Regions from separate parts of the Homo sapiens genome. Here all the other regions are linked to region 1. The links are contacts of gene promoters, found by promoter capture Hi-C in blood cells and fetal thymus (Javierre and others, 2016). All regions are on one chromosome and are shown on one strand. Each heading gives the region's core, a stretch centred on a gene start or on the middle of the fragment in contact. The rest is flanking DNA. Distances are from core to core; before and after follow the strand shown. Region 1 holds the start of SEC24D (SEC24 homolog D, COPII component). Region 2 overlaps EXOSC9 (exosome component 9). Region 3 has its middle 7.4 kb from the start of EXOSC9.

Region 1 (3,419 bases), core at 416-2,915:
CAAATATAACAGACTCATCTTGATTTTTTTTAAATCTTGATTCTAATCAGAACCCAAATTTGCTTTAAATTTTCTATTTTTTCCAGGTTTTAACAAAATAAGAGATATTTCATAGGACTGATGATTTAAAAAAAAAAATTAAATACGACAGAAAATGCTTTGAATGCAAGAGAAGTGGGTTTCCATTCTATGTCTGCCATACTTAACTGTGTGACATGGAATGAGCTGAAGAACCTCTCTAAGCCTCAGTTCCTTCTTTTAGAAAATGAAGCCTTTCCAGATTTCCACTGATTCTACAATTTATCTCCAGTTTATTTGCCCCATACAAGCATATTCTTCCTTTTGTTCTTTTATTTGCTACAATTTAAGATAAGAGATCAGTGATACCTGCTAAGACTTAGAATCTGTCTATATTCAAGAAATAACATTTCAAATTAAAAATTTGAAGCCTAAAATTTGTGATTTGATTTTGTTTCCATATTAAACTATAAGTTTCCAAAATAAAAGCAACCATGTAAAAATATTATGAGATCATTTCCTTCTCCTGGGAAGGGGAGAACTGAAAAAGAGGAGAGAGGCAGGCAAAGGCCTTCTGGTCCACTTTGTTTCTGACAACCCCTTTTTCCTCCTCCCACTTAGCAGAGAGAGACGTGGCAGCCTGAGCGCTGGTCAAGCTCATCCAACCAAGAGCACTTAGGAAGTCGGCACGAACACACCTAAGTAGCAGCCTGTTGCTGAGTGACAGAAAAGAGAGGCTGAGATGGTCACTCCAAAGAACAGGAAGCAGCCAGTTCCCTCTGAACTGGTCCTCAGAGGAATCAGCTTCCTCACGCAACCCAGTTTGCCACGTCAAACTTCCTCACACAGAGCACCAAGTTAAAGAAACCTGACTCAGCTTCAAGCGGCGACACGGCAGAAAGCCACTTGGTATAAGCAGGCCTAGGATCAAAATCTGGGGAGCCCCAACCCCAGAACGGCCCCCTGGCTCACTGTCACCCAGCAACTCTAGCCAAGGTGCACTTCTAACCCTGGAACAAGTTCGTATTTGGCCAGATCAGTTTCACTATTCGGATGTCCCGAGGCTTCAAGATATAGTTGCCATTTTTACCATGAATATTTCTAACATTTCCTTCCTTCAAAAAAGGAAATTAAGTTGATAAGGAGATGAGAAAACCGCTGGCAATGACACTCGAATGGTGGCCACTGAGGATCCTAACAAGGCAGTTCCTGCATCCCAAGGCAAAAGGTGGGGGCGGGTAAAAAATGCCCACGCCCACCTCCTGCTCCCCCATCCCGCCGGCCCCACTATTAAACTGCACTAGAAGGCTAAAGAACAAAGAATGAGTTCTCCTCCCGCCGCCACTGCCTCAGGTGAGCACCCGGCCTCCCGCCGCGTCCCCGGGCCGGGCGCCGCAACCCGCTCCGCTGTGCCTGGGCAGGGCTGTCCCGCATGAAGGCGTCCGCGGGTGGGAGGCTTTACCTGTTCCCGCTCCCGCACCCCGCGGGCTTCCGAGCGCTGGCGGCTCTGCGCCTAGTGCCGGCAGCCCTCGGTGGCCGGGCTCCCGCTGCGGTCGCTTCTCCCGCCGCGCCTCTTCCCCGGCCGGCGTCCCCTTAGCCTGGACTCACGCTCGGAGTTGCAGCTGGGCTGGGAACTGCCACGTCAAACCCTTTCTCGGCTGCGCGCCCCCAGCGCCGGGCTTGGACCAGCCGCCGCGCTCCCGCCTGCGCACGCGCACAGCCACCGGCCGCCGCGGGGCGGGGCCACCGGGCTGAGCCTGCGAGCGGCCGAGCGACCTCCCCCTTTTCGCTTTTTCCCTTTTTCCGGTTTTTTGTTTTTTGGTTTTCTTTTTCCCGTCTTTTCTTTCCCCTCCCCCTACAGGTCAAAGCCTTTAACGTCGTGGCTAAATCAGAACCGTATTTTCTCGGCGCAGCCCCGCAGGAAGGAGGGGAGCGCGTTCATTCATTCTTCCATCAACAGGTTGCAGTTTCAGCTCTTCATTCATTACGTATTACTTAAATAACTAATAGTTCAGGTACTGCACTACCGTTACATACGGGAAAGTACACGATCTGGACCTAGGGGAGATTACCGTTTAAAGGCGAATCTGGCACGTGTACACGCACATTTGATGACGTACCCGTGCAATGCACTACAGAGGAAGGAACGCCCAAAGCAGCCTGGCAACGTGTAACGCGGGAGGAGTGGGGGGTGGGGGAGATGTCCCAAAGGAAAAGTGTGGGAAGTGGGGTTTCCATTGATATTGGGGTTGTTAGCGTTGTGTATACTCCTTCTTCCGCATATTCCTTGTTTGTGAAGTAGGATGGCTGATCCCAGCCCCAAACAGGAATCTCTGCATGGAAAAGCACCCAGCGTTTAGCTCACCGTCCTGTGAGAAACAGCTCAGAAATAAAGGCAACCTATATGAGATCTGGAGCTTACCTCTCTATCTCACCCTAAAATCAGGACCATCTGGCTGGTTTCCTATCATCTTTCACTGCTAAATAGAAAGACATTCAGCCACTCCCAGGTTTGGTATAGCTACCACTTTGCTCAAACTTACAAAGTAAAAACCAGCCCGGTGTTGTTGTTTTTAACATGCACTTTCTTCCCGGCTACAAGAAAGCCACTTGACAAATACCTTTACTGATGAACTGCCTAGGTAAAAACGTACATGGGGATGTTGCTACTCCCGAAATGCTACATGAATTGTGCAGGAATTTTAAGTCATTTTAGCAGTAAAGATATATGGTCCATTTATCCCACTCTTAAAAGTTTTTAAGGCATGGGGCAAGGCACAGTGGCTCACACCTGTTATCCCAGCACTTTGGGAGGCCAAGCAGGGAGGATTGCTTGAGGCCAGGAGGCAGTGAGCTATGATCACACCACTGCGTTCCAGCGTGGGCAACAGAGTGAGACCCTGTCTCAAGAAAAAGAAAAAAAGATTTTAAGGTAAGATATCTGGCCTACATCCAGCTTCAACACTGATCAGGTTTGAAAACCCACATTGAAATTTTTGTTTTAAATTGTTTCTTGTATTCTCAATGTGATGAAAATGTTCAGTGGAAGTTTAGGAAGTTTTGGCCGGTGTTGAAGCAGTACAGCTTGTAAAAGCAGTGAAAGAACTTGTCATATAACAGCTACATTACAAGGAGCGAGTGAAGCTATGATACAAAGATAGGAGAGAGTAAAGTCAGAAACAGTCACACCATGTGATGACCTGCTTGACTTGTTACCCCTATAAAACCACTACTTTTGAATTGTAAATACATCCTCACCTCCTGCTCAGGTACCAAACTTGTCTGAAACCAGGACAATTTGTGGTTTCAATTCTAAAACAGTTTTTAATTCCTAAATGTTAAAGCTGGAAGGGACTTGGCCGGGCGCGGTGGCTCACGCCCGTAATCACAGCACTTTGGGA
Region 2 (3,419 bases), core at 39-2,538, 3.0 Mb after region 1:
TGCCAATTAAAGCTAACAGTTGTATATCTGTATATATAACTATTAAAAGGGATATTTATTCCATTCTGAGAACCCTGGGTATTTTTTATTCACAAATCCATTATAAAATCTAGCAGGATTTTAAAAATAGTTTTTTGTTTTTAATGTGCTTTAAAATAATAAACCTTCTGGAGCATTTCTCGTCTGTTAATTTGCATATAAGCTTCCCACCCTCTTCCACTCCCAACCTCTGTTGAGTTTACCTCGCAAAACCTAAACAAACAGGTTTTACAAAGAGCGAAAAAGTCTGGGGAATCTCTACTGTATCTATCTCTGAATACTGTATTCAGATATGCTTAGATTAGATTATGCCCAAGTCAGCAAATTGATCCAGTTGCTTAGGAAAATGAATGTCAGAATTTGAGGGTCTGTTTTCCTAAACCTACTTTAATTTTAGAGGAAGGCTTTTCACTTCCCATTATATAGTAAACCAAGTAAACTTCTTTACTAAGCAAAATCCTGAAGAAGTTAAATTTGACTTGCAAAGTTTTCCAAATCAATTTATTATCCTGACAGCTGGCATCATTAATACTTTAACAAAACCACTTAAAATTAGCCAAATATCTAAGACAGATACATATACAAAAGATATACAAATTAAAACCATTTAAAAAGTAATAGATACCATAATTTGTACTTGGCCACAACTTCTGTATTCAGAAATGATTGTAAAATTAAAACCTAAGTTAAAAACTGTACACCATATACTTTGAGTGATTTACATCTTAGAAAACAAAGGCAGTCTTTCATTGTTACAGATTTAGTGTCTCTGGTGGGTTGAGGAGAGAAACACCATGATACCTGTAAGTAGGGAAAAAAAAAGCATTTTTAGTAAACACTCACTGGGTAAAGGAGATCATGGAATAATGTTTGTACTCATGTATTGGGAACTAAAAAATGCTATTTCTGTCTGACCGACTTGATGGTTTTAGAAACACTGTCTGGTCCCTGAAACACACATGCATGCCCCCTTCCTTCTCTCTTCTCCCCCAGACCCAGGGCAGAAAGCATGAACTACAACCTTCTTCAAACACATAACCAATTTAGAGAACAGCTTCTCAAGGAGGCTATGGCAGATTCATGAATAAGGTTAAAATGTCAAAGATCTCTGAACCATAATCTAGAAAAGTAAGCTTCAATATCCAAGTTAATTCTTACTTTGAATTTTTGTACTTTTCTCTTATTGACTGTTGTGCATGCTGTGGTGCTTTGAGGTAGGTCTGGTGAAGGTCCATGAGACAAGGCTTAAGACTTTCCAGGGTATATCCAGTCTTTCGTATTAATGATTCAGGCTACAGAGAAGGGAATAGAGAACCCCTGAGTTTTGCTTTTAGTAACACACCAAACACAGTAAATAGTTGGCATTAAGCTTATGTTAAATTCCAGTACTAATCTTTAACTTTTCCAACTACTAGTTTTCTCAGGCCATTATTCCATCCCTCGATCCATTTTCTACTACTTTCCCTGCCAGCAACAGGTCAGATGCTTTTAAAAAAGCTCACCTTTCAATCCAAGTTACAACTAAGCTTACTACCTAACAAACACTGTTCAACAGGTAACATGCCTTAAACAGTATATAATCATCCCTCAGTGTACATGAGGGATTGGTTCCAGGACCCTTCCCAAATATACCCAAATCTGTACATATTCAAGTCCTGCAGTCACCCTTCCATATATATGGGTTGTGAATCCCCTGAATACTGTAGTTTCAGTCCACATTTGATTGGAAAAAAATCCATGTGTAAGTGGACTCACACAGTTCAAACCTGTGTTTTTCAAAGGTCAACTATATATATTTGAAGTTTTTCCAAGTAAGAACATCTAGGCAACCCTCAGTTTTGTAGGACAATTATTATTTAATCTGGCACAGGCATTTCAGTCACAAGATAGGTGTGTGAAGACCGTAATACATACCCAGCTTTGTCCCGTGACTGTGTAGAGTGCTAAATGAAAGGCAGCTCCAGCAATAACTGATGGCAAATACTTGAGGTATGGGTCAGCATCTATCAAACTTAATTCTCCCAAAAACTGGAATAAAAAATACTTTATGATCACAAGAGCGTTTAGAATTCAAATGTCAAACCTCTGCCTTCTAACCTAATTTTTTCCTGCCTTTGATAACGGCTCTGTAGCAACTCTAGAAAAAATATCTCACAGCCTCATCTTTAAACATATCAATCATTTTAGTGTTTTGTTCCATCCTCATCCTGTATTTTCCCTCCTTTATTAACTTTTAAAAAACAACTCTTCTGACTACCCATCCCCAAGATGTCATCCTTAGACCTCTGCTTCTAGTGCTTTCCTGATATAGATTATCTTTTGCCAGCAGTAGGCTTTCTTCCATACTGCAGCATTAATCTCCCTCTGAATACTAAATCTCTTCACCACTGCTGTACAAAGGAACTAGGTTCCTTTACAAAGGAATTAGGGCTTACCCCTAATTATTACCAAAGAATCACCATTCAACAAAATGAAAGTTAACTCACCATTGCTAAACTTTCAACTTTGCAGTTTGCAGGCTGCTGATGCAGAAAGTATTGGGTAAGAAACTGATTTACTGTTGGAGCAGCTAAGTCAAAAGTAAGGACTTTCAAAACTAGATGCTCCATTCTCAGAACTTGTTTCTTGGTGTAGGTATCATCTGTAATGTACACAAACTCTGCTACTTCTGGGGGGTATATTTCTTCAAACTTTCTACAATGAAAAAAGTTTTAAGTAATCAGTCCTAAAAGAGAAGCAAGCTTCCTTATCCCAGTTCTGAAATCCCATTAGCAGAATATGGAATGAATCCAAAATCCACACCAACTGCATTTCCAGACACTTGATCATCATTTCTAGTAGAGACTGGATAGCTAATTGCTAATTAAAAGGCCCAAATCAATAAAGGACTTTTGAGATATTTTCCCCAGTTCAGTCAAAGGAAGTAAATGAAAGGCATGAGACTTCTCGAGATGGGAACAATGCCAGAGTTCACCAAGTAGCTGAAAATTTAGGAAATACAAGTCTTAGGAAAACATGTTTCATGTTTTCATTTTTAAATTTAGTTTTTCTTTCTTTTTTTTTTTTTTTTTTGAGACAAGAGTCTTGCTCTGTCGCCCAGGCCAGAGTGCAGTGGTGCAATCTTAGCTCGCTGCAACTTCCACCTCCTGGGTTCAAGCGATTCTCTTGCCTCAGCCTCCCTAGTAGCTGAGATTACAGGCATGCATCACCATGCCCAGCTAATTTTTGTATTTTTAGTAGAGACAGGGTTTCGCCATGATGGCCAGGCTGGTCTCAAACTCCTGACCTCAAGTGATCCGCCCACCTCGGCCTCCCAAAGTGCTGGGATTACAGGCGCGAGCCACCGCACCCAGCCTTTACTTCTTAATAAAAGAGACACT
Region 3 (3,419 bases), core at 654-3,153, 3.0 Mb after region 1:
GAGGCTGAGCAGGAGAATAGCTTGAACCTCCCAGAGTTCTGTAATTATAGGCATGAGCCACTGTGCCCGGGCCATTTACTTAATTATTGACTCCTCACATTTTCAGGTTTCCTCAAATGCCCCCTCATCAAAGAGGCCTCTCTCCTGATTACATTACTTCACAGTAACTTCTTGGCCACTCTCTCTCACCGGGCTTTACTTTTCTTTGTATCACCTCTCATTACCAGGCACTACTGATAGTTTGTTTATTACTTTTTTGTCTACCTGTCTCTATAATATAGGCTCCAAGTGACCTGTTCTATTTTGTTTACATTATCCCAGTGCTTAAAATAGAGCCTGGCACATAGTAGGTTCGCAAAGAATACTTATATAAATGACTGAATTCTTATAAATTTTTACTTCTTACAAACCTAATTTTTATTAGTAATACTAGAAACAAAAATTAAGGGAAACTCCCATTATCAAACTTTTTTTTTTTTGAGAAAGGGTCTCACTCCGTCACCCAGGCTGGAATGCAGCGGCATGGTCACGGCTCACTGCAGCTTCAACCTCCCAGGCTCAGGTGATCCTCCCACCTCAATCTCCCAAGTAACTGGGACTATAGGTGTGTGCCACCACACCCGGCCAATTTTTGTATTTTTTGTGGGGACAGGGTTTTGCCATGTTGCCCAAGCTGGTCTTGAACTCCTGGGCTCAAGCAATCCTCTTGCCTCAGCCTCATGAGTAGCTGGGATTATAAGTGCACACCACCATACTTGGTGTTAGCAACATCTTGATAACCTCAAATGTTGAAAAAAAAAAAAGGCAAATGGGGATTTTATTTATACTATCATCAAGGTGAGAGTAGTCTAGTGAATTACGAGATTCATAAGTAATGCTCACCTGAGAAGAGTTTGTGCTCAAAGTTGCATTAGTCATCTTTTGCTTCTTAGCAGCCTAAAGCAGCATACACTTATTATCTCATGGTTTCTGTGAGTCAGGAACCCAGGCATACATTAACAGGGTTTGCTTAAGGGTCCCTCTTAAAGCTACAATCAAGATGTCAGCGAGGGCTAAAGTCTCATCTAAAAGCTCAGCATAGGAAGCTCAACAAGCTCACTTCTGTGACTGTTGTCAGGCTTCAATTCCCTTTGAGATATAGATTTAGGTCCCAAATATTTACCTGGCAACTGGCTGCAGAACACCCTCAGTTCCTTGTCATGTGGGCCCCCTGACATGGAAACTTGCTTTATCAAATCCAGCAAGAGAGGGAGTCCGCTAGCATGATCGAAGTTATATTTTCTTATAATCCAATAACAGAAGTGTCATCCCCTTAATGTTGAGGTATTCTGTTGATTACAAGTAAGTCATTCAAGGGGAGGGGATCACATAAGGCCCTAAATATCAGGAGGTATGAATCACTGGGGGCCATCTTAGGGGCCTGTTACCACTGAAATACTATCTCAAAATAATATTATATTGCTTGCTAGAGAAATGTACGCTTCAGCCAGGCACAGTAGCTCACACCTGTAATCCCAGTAACTCAGGAGGCCGAGCTGAGATGATCACTTGAGGCCAGGAGTTAAACTAACCTGGGCAACATAGTGAGACCCATGTCTAAAAAAAAAAAGATAAAGAAAAGAAACGTGCCTACATGATACCACAGTCCAGCCTAGGCTGTCCATGGTCACCTCATGGGAGAGTCAGCATCGTCTGGTGTTCTCCCATTTCTGCTGAAGCTGCTGCCTCTGAAACAGCCTAAGCCTTCCTTGTTAGACAACTTTAGGAAGAAGCAAGCAGGGTAAGAGCGAAGAGATACAAAATAGAAACTTTTCCTCTTAAGTCATTTATTTGAATAAGGAGTTGATCAATGGTATGGGTACAGCATCCCTGGGAGTTGGGCTAATGGAGAGCGGCCAACATAGTACAAATAACGTATTCTGTAAGAGCCTATCCATCAAGAACCAGGGCCACTTTTGCATGTAGAACTCCTCCTATTGCTTGTGATAAAAGCTCAATATCAACCTCACTCTTGCCTGTATGCTAGCTTTGGAATTGTAGTCAGACTTCATATGTCTCTTTGCATTAATGAGCCCTACTTCATCATTATACTTCTAATTGTGTGTCAAGTTAAAGCATGAGAAATTGAGTTTGGATAATCTAATAATAGCAGCTTTATTCTCTATATGGATATCAGATGGCAAAGTAATTAAATGAGGAAAGTTAAGATCCTCACAGAGAGAAAGGCAATAACCTGGTTTGGTGTTAAGAGTGAAGAGAATACACTTGCCATAGAAATGAATTCCCATTTACAAGAAGCAGCACAGAGTACAGTCTCTGGAGTCAGGCTGTCTGGGTATGAATCCTAGTTCTGTGGCTTACTAGCTGTGCAAACTTGGACAGATTACTCAATCTGTCTGTACCTTGTAACATAGGCATCTGTAAAAGACAGATAACGAATACTGGTTCACTGTAACAGATGGACCACACTGATGAGGGCTGTTGATGGGTGGACGAGGTTGTGTATGTGGGGGAAAAGTGTATGGAGACTTCGTGTACTTTCCGCTCAATTTTTCTCTTAACCTGAAATTGTTCTTAAAATTGTCTATGAGTTTATAAAATCATGATGTTAAAATATGCCTCAAGATTAGATTGTCACTGAAAGCACTCCTTCCACAAAGTGAGTGAACAGCAAGTTAGCAAACATTGTAGGGAAGTACCTCCTATTGAACTTTGCTGGCACCAATCACACTGCCTAGCACATAGCAGGAATTCCACCTAACTCTGGAAATCTGTAAGCAGGCAGTTAGCACTGCCTTATGGGAACAGGGGAGTGGAGGACACCTCCCCTCACATTTTGCACAAAACAGACAGGGAATCCTAGAGCTAGATAAGATTGGATATATATCTCTCTCCTAGAAATTTAGATCAGGGCTTCTCCAACTTTAACGTTTATAAGAATCACCTGGAGGGGGCTGGGCACAGTGGCTCATGCCTGTAATCCCAACACTTTGGGAGGCCGAGGTGGGCGGATCATTTGAAGTCAGAAGTTGGAGACCAGCCTGGCCAACATGGCAAAACCCCATCTCTACCAAAAATACAATAAATTAGCTGGGCTTGGTGACACATGCCTGTAGTCCCAGCTACCTGGGAGGCTGAGGCAGGAGAATTGCTTGAGCCAGGAGGTGGAGGTTGCAGTGAGCCGAGATCACACCACTGCACTCCAGCCTGGGTGACAGAGTGAGACTCCCATCTTAAAACAAAAAACAAAAAACAAAAAACAAAACATTACTATTTGAGACTGTCACTACAACAGTTACTACTGTTACTACTTGAGACTGTCATTACAAGACTTACTACTGTCACTACTTGAGACTGTCATTACGAGACTGAACGAAAACGGACGCATGCAGAAATGAAAACTTAAAACAAAAGAAACT

The links. Contacts are between HindIII fragments. The CHiCAGO score rates a contact against its expected background, and 5 or more counts as called.
Region 2: a fragment that was not itself captured here is called in contact with the fragment with the promoter of SEC24D in region 1 in 1 of 17 cell types (activated CD4 T cells); the score reaches 6.5 in activated CD4 T cells.
Region 3: a fragment that was not itself captured here is called in contact with the fragment with the promoter of SEC24D in region 1 in 1 of 17 cell types (total CD4 T cells); the score reaches 5.7 in total CD4 T cells.

Annotation. Positions count from the first base shown.
Region 1 is chr4:118,834,461-118,837,879 of GRCh38, forward strand. It overlaps SEC24D (SEC24 homolog D, COPII component), which reads right to left and starts at 1,666. Exons shown (of 23, transcript NM_014822.4): 1 at 1,481-1,666. RefSeq lists enhancers at 1,022-1,913, 1,534-1,828 and a silencer at 1,340-1,829. The HindIII fragment of the contact is 6,235 bases long and covers 1-3,419 here.
Region 2 is chr4:121,816,847-121,820,265 of GRCh38, forward strand. EXOSC9 (exosome component 9) reads left to right here. Exons shown (of 12, transcript NM_005033.3): 12 at 1-175. The coding sequence ends at 10. It overlaps CCNA2 (cyclin A2), which reads right to left. Exons shown (of 8, transcript NM_001237.5): 5 at 2,526-2,733; 6 at 1,954-2,067; 7 at 1,198-1,331; 8 at 1-840. The coding sequence ends at 792. Among named protein-coding and RNA genes, the nearest start is that of CCNA2, 5.3 kb to the right of the region's middle. The HindIII fragment of the contact is 236 bases long and covers 1,171-1,406 here.
Region 3 is chr4:121,792,248-121,795,666 of GRCh38, forward strand. No RefSeq gene overlaps it. Among named protein-coding and RNA genes, the nearest start is that of EXOSC9, 7.4 kb to the right of the region's middle. RefSeq lists a silencer at 2,247-2,541 and an enhancer at 2,247-2,541. The HindIII fragment of the contact is 7,280 bases long and covers 1-3,419 here.